Regions from separate parts of the Homo sapiens genome. Here region 1 is linked to region 2. The links are contacts of gene promoters, found by promoter capture Hi-C in human tissues and cell types (Jung and others, 2019). All regions are on one chromosome and are shown on one strand. Each heading gives the region's core, a stretch centred on a gene start or on the middle of the fragment in contact. The rest is flanking DNA. Distances are from core to core; before and after follow the strand shown. Region 1 has its middle 53 kb from the start of SH3GL2. Region 2 holds the start of SH3GL2 (SH3 domain containing GRB2 like 2, endophilin A1).

Region 1 (2,812 bases), core at 8-2,507, 53 kb after region 2:
TCATGCTGATATTGCCAACTCTAATTCTTTACCACACACATCACTCTCCTCTCCTCCCCTTGCTTATCTGTAAGTACCCACTCCACCAGTAAGAATCCTAGCTCCCACCATTTGCCATCAATGTACTGAATTCTTCCGTCCCAGTATACATGCATCGCAGAATCAGAATTGTCAGTGTGTACTCCATGGGAAACAACTTTATCAACTAGAGCACAGTGAGAGCTTCTATCTATTTAAGGATAAATTTAATTCTCTGATAGTATAGCCTGCTTGAAAAGTTTTAGTTTTTCTTTTTAAATATGGAGAATTAACAAAGATAATCAAATCAGTAGAAAGGCTGTGCAGGGTATGAACAATGGGATTTCTTTCTTTTTCAGGTAAAGGAGGGCGGGTGGCTGAATTTGGAGTGTCACAGTAATGGACAGTGATGTGTCAAGGGAAAGCTTTTTATAAGAAGTTAGGTGGCCGGGCACGGTGGCTCATACCTGTAATCCCAGGACTTTGGGAGGCTGAGGTAGGCGGATCACTTGAGGTCAGGAGTTGAAGACCAGCCCGGCCAACATGGTGAAACCCCATCTCTACTAAAAATACAGAAAATAGCTTAGCTGAGCATGGTGATGCACGCCTATAATCCCAGCTACTTGGGAAGCTGAGGCAGGAGAATCACTTGGACCCAGGAGGCGGAAGTTGCAGTGAGCTGAGATTGCACAACAGAACTCCAGCCTGGGCGACAGCGAGACTCCGCCTCAAAATCCAGCCTGGGTGACACAGCAAGACTCCGCCTCAAAAAAAAAAGAGAGATTAGGTGACTTAACTGAAAAATTGTAAGCATTTTTGTTAAAGAGTTTGTAAAGCATGATAATCATTATTTAGTGGAAACTCTAGAGCTAAATTAATTAATTTTTTTACATGTTTTACTATTGTTCTTAAAGCTCTTAGAGAATATACGTATGACTTGGCTATTGGGGCTAATGAAAGAGTGAAAGAAGCAATAGGTTTCAAATGATTCCCATTACAGTATGTCCAGACCCTTTATGAGTAAAAGAGAAAAATATTTGTGAATTTAGAATTCTGGAAAATATTTTGGTGCACACTTATTGTATCAGTCTTATCAATCTTTGTGCCCTGAGATGTTTAGCATGAGATGTTCCTTTTAACTTGGAAGTATTCAGTAATTGAAAGATATTTACGTTAGCATATTCAACTTATTTATCAAAAGAAGTTAAACTTTATAATTTGTCAGTTTTTTTGTACTAAGTCTGGTAGACAAAGTCTCTTATAGTAATTTACTTAATTACAGTTTAGAGAATTTTAGACATACCTAATTAATTTTATTTATTGCTCTATGAGCACTTATTTCAAATCATTTTGGCTATTTTGAGTAGGGAAATGATGTATACAAAAATGTCCAGGCCGGGCACGGTGGCTCACGCCTGTAATCCCAGCACTTTGGGAGGCCGAGGTGGGTGGATCACAAGGTCAGGAGATCGAGACCATCCTGGATAACATGGTGAAATCCCGTCTCTACTAAAAATACAAAAAATTAGCTGGGTGTGGTGGTGGGCACCTGTAGTCTCAGCTACTCAGGAGGCTGAGGCAGGAGAATGGCGTGAACCCGGGAGGCGGAGCTTGCAGTGAGCCGAGATTGCGCCACTGCACTCCAGCCTGGGCGACAGAGCAAGACTCTGTCTCAAAAAAAATAAAAATAGAAATAGAAAAATAAATAAAAATAAAAATGTCCAAAGACATTTGTATGCTTTGTTAATGTATTGTTATTTTAAGAAATGAGTCAAATCATGTTTCATAACCAGTGTTTTGTATGTCTTTAAAAAGTTGTTTAGTAATTGTTTAGGCCTTCAAAGATCTTTTCATAATGAATTCAGTCATTTCTCTATGACCTTAAATTTAGTGAAGGATCTGGTAATTTCAAATTAGCTAACATATTTTTTATTTACAGTATTATACATTTTCATAAAATTAGGTCTTTTAAAAGGATATTTATTATCATTCTATTTAGTTGAATACAATTACATATGTAATTTTTAATTTTAAACAAGCTACAGAAACATACGTAGATCATTTAACTCGCAAACCAATGTAGGAAAGTTTGAATTATAAGAAATAACACTGGTCTTGAACAAATCAAAATGTTATGCTAACAACATTTTTATATGGTAAACCAGTTTTTAAAAACTCTGAATCATGCCAATATTCCCTTTTATTTTGAAGTTAAAATCTTTTCTATCTCATAGCTATAAAAACAAGTTATTATATAAAAACACTTTCCAGTACCCATAAAAAGAAACATAATTTAGTGACTTTACCTTTCTTTTAGAAAATATTTACTGTTTATATGTACTTAATATTCCTGCAGTACCTCAAAAATGACTGAAAGGTTTTTTTTTTATCAGTTAAGTTTTAAAGTTTACAATAGTCACGCATATTAATCAGGATGGAGGGATATTTTGGTCATTTTTATGGTTTGGGTAATGTTTTGGCTGAGGGATGTTGGGCAAGTTAGCAGCTGAGCCTCATTTTCCATATAGGGTTCTTTATGAAATGAAACAAATTAGTAAAATGTCCAACAATGTCTATGTTATTGTGTATGTTCAAACCTGATTTGAGAGTGATCTTGTTTTTGTCTTTATTTCTGATGGTCACAGAGTGGTCTTAACTGATTTTGATATTCTGTGAAATTGTTTAAGAGGAAAATACCAAGGCTAGCTCCTAGCAACAACAGGACAAGTGGACAGTAAGAAGCCGTCTCCCAGGTGTCAGGGGCTGCTTTTCTTTTTCTTTGTAACTCTCTAGA
Region 2 (2,807 bases), core at 256-2,755:
TTTTACAGAAATAGTCTTACTTTTCTTGATTTCCTAAGTTGACAGGTATAATTGATTCTATAAAGGCAAGAATGTGTGATGAAGATGATGCAGATGCGTGCAAACACACACACGACGGGAATTACATGCTGCATCTGTCACCCTAAGTTAACCAAGGTTCTGTAAAACACAACCCTCACCTTTTCTGGATGTGGTTCATAACAAGGCTGCCACTGTGGTAGCCTAGGAAAAACCTCACTACTTCCGAGAAATTATGAGAAAGCTCGTTAATTAAGGCTAACCTATGAAAAACTATTTAACACCAAATCATGAAAAACATTTCGCGGTAAGTCATCAAAATCCTTAAAGATCCCATAAATTTGAACCTATTTCAGAAGGATAAAAAAGTAGTAATCACACACATTATGTAAGAAATAGGTCACAGCGTAAGTATTCGCTTACTTGCCCCTATGTAAAATTCTTTGAGTCCAATGATTTTAATTATTAGAATCTAAATTAATCAGTTTTATTACAGTCACAGCTTATTAACCCCATAAAGAAAAATGGGCACATCCAAGATGCCAAAGATTTATTAAAAACAATTTAAAATACATGATGATTTTAAGTCTTCAACAATTTGGTTGTTTTAGGGAAATATTTAAGACCCGCAGACTGTTTGTCATGCCCTGGCCTCAAAGGAGTTTCACGACCGAGTTCTCCAGGTAAAAGTTAATGTATGCGGGTCCCTAAAGGAAGACCCCAGCCTTCCATTCCCCTGGAGCCTGCGGGCGGCGGGGAAGGAGGGTTCTGACAACAGGGTAAGGGAGAGGAGCGCAAACCGCCGGCCTCCGCCCCGCCACCCCCAGTGCGGCCACCGCTCATGCCAACACATCCCGGGAAAGCCGGGTGCACCGACTCCGCAAGGTCACCCGTGAAGAGGCGACTTTACATAATCTCCCACCGCGCCGCCAAGGCACCTGCGCGCCGCGGCAGCAGTGCAGCCGCGGTCCCCTTCCTGCAGCACGGGCGCGAGATGATGCGGGGGCGGCGAGCAGCGCTACCAGGCAGGACGCCGGGGACCCGCGGGAAGGCAGCGCGCACCAAGCCGGGGGCGGGGGACCGAGGGTGGACGCCCAGACCGGGGATGCCCCGAGCCGCCGCCTTGGCTTGCGAGGCGGGGCGCGGCCGGCGCGGGCGAGGCTCGGTGCCGAACTCCCCAAGCTGCCGCCGGACGGCCAGCGCCGAGCGCGCCCCTCGCAGCTTCGCCCCGGACTGCCCCGGGACGCACCTGCCGCGCGCCTTACCTGAGTGGCTTTATGGAACTGCTTCTTGAGGCCGGCCACCGACATGGTGCAGGAGGCCGCGCTGGCGGCTGCTGTGCGGGAGGGAGGAGGCGGAGGGGGACTGGAGGGCCGAGCGGGGCGGCGCGCTCCCCTGGCCGCCTCTGGTCGTGCCGCCGCCGGGGCTATGGGCGCGAGGGCGCGGAGCCTAGCGGGACACGGGCTCTTGCGGAGAAACACTCTGACGTCAAGGGCGGGTGATGCGGCCTCTTAAAGGGGACGCGGGAAGCCCCGCCCCAAGCGCGGGAACGCCCAGGCAGGTGCTGTGGCGCGCGGTACCTGGATGCTGGCGCCAACTGCGGGGATGTGGCTCAGCGGCACCCGCTGGCGGATCCCTAGTCAGCGGGCCGAGGACGTCCTCCTGTCCCGGGGTTGGTGTTCCTGCCCCCGGGGGCTGCGGACGGGTCGCTGCAGATTGGCAGCCCAGGCACCCGCAGGACTCAGGTGACTTGCTGGGCTTCCAGGTAGCCGCGGCGGCGCTGCCTGCAGACGGCCCTCCTGCCCTTTGAGCCTGGCGTCTCTGCGCCGCAGCCTGAAAAAGACTGGCCTTCTATCTGGGCTAATGAATAAGTCATTGCTCCTTCTATGCCTTGCCCTGACTGGTGGGTCACAGAAAACATTTCTCTGCCCTGGTTTCAATATCCCTTAAGCCCATCTTACCTTAGGGAAAGTCACACACGCGTTTTCCCCCTTGTCTGATACAATTTAATGACTTAAAAAGAAGAACAGGAACCCTTAAGCCTGGACGGATAAATAGAATTGAAGTCTTACTACAAAACTAGCGTTCAATCCTCTGGTTACAGAAATGAAAAAGCCCAAATGTGATCTTGTTGTTATGCTTGTGGATTTAGGGTTTCCGGTCCGATAAAAATCAAAATATAATGTGAAAAAGCATGATACTAAGTTATATACAGATGCTTCATATGTAACCAAGGAGGTATGGCTGGCTAAAGTGAAACTAATAGATGACTTGGGAGCAGAGCAGCACTAAATGCCTTCTGTGCTCTGGTACTTAACCAAGTCTGGTTTTTCTAGGACTGAGGAGGTGGTCAGAAAGAACTTAGACGCTGTCCCCGTATGTGGACCAAAGTGATAAGAAGGAGAAGCCAAGATGGGAGAAATTGCCAAGGATGTGTAGAGACTGCAAGGCCAAATGGGAGTCCTAGAAATACTTTTTCTGTCTCCGCAACTCCTGCAGCCTGATAGGAGCCACAGACCCATCCCCACTCTTCTAGGCACTGCGGCTTGGGCACAGGGTGAACACCTGCTACAAAAGGGTCCTCCATCCGTAGAGCTACCAGTCATGGTCCTTCTTGATAATGTGAACTGACACACACAAAGGCAGAGTCAAGCAGTGGTGGGCACTGGAGCAGTAGAGCGCATGGACTAGGGACGCAGGCTGCAAAGGGAGGCAGATGAAAGGAGCTATTCTCCAGTGTGGTAGCCCTTACCACTGTTCATATACCTTTCCCTACATGGCAGAATTGC

Evidence for each region. The method cuts DNA at HindIII sites, captures the fragments that hold promoters and counts their contacts. A contact is called where the count stands out against the background at its distance.
Region 1: a contact is called between a fragment that was not itself captured here and the fragment with the promoter of SH3GL2 in region 2, in 2 of the 25 tissues and cell types used here (H1 embryonic stem cells and mesendoderm cells).

What each region holds. Positions count from the first base shown.
Region 1 is chr9:17,524,834-17,527,645 of GRCh38, reverse strand. It overlaps a transcript of CNTLN not described here. Among named protein-coding and RNA genes, the nearest start is that of SH3GL2, 53 kb to the left of the region's middle. The HindIII fragment of the contact is 5,119 bases long and covers 1-2,812 here.
Region 2 is chr9:17,577,764-17,580,570 of GRCh38, reverse strand. It overlaps SH3GL2 (SH3 domain containing GRB2 like 2, endophilin A1), which reads right to left and starts at 1,505. Exons shown (of 9, transcript NM_003026.5): 1 at 1,284-1,505. The coding sequence starts at 1,328. RefSeq lists a silencer at 2,495-2,693. The HindIII fragment of the contact is 4,711 bases long and covers 1-2,807 here.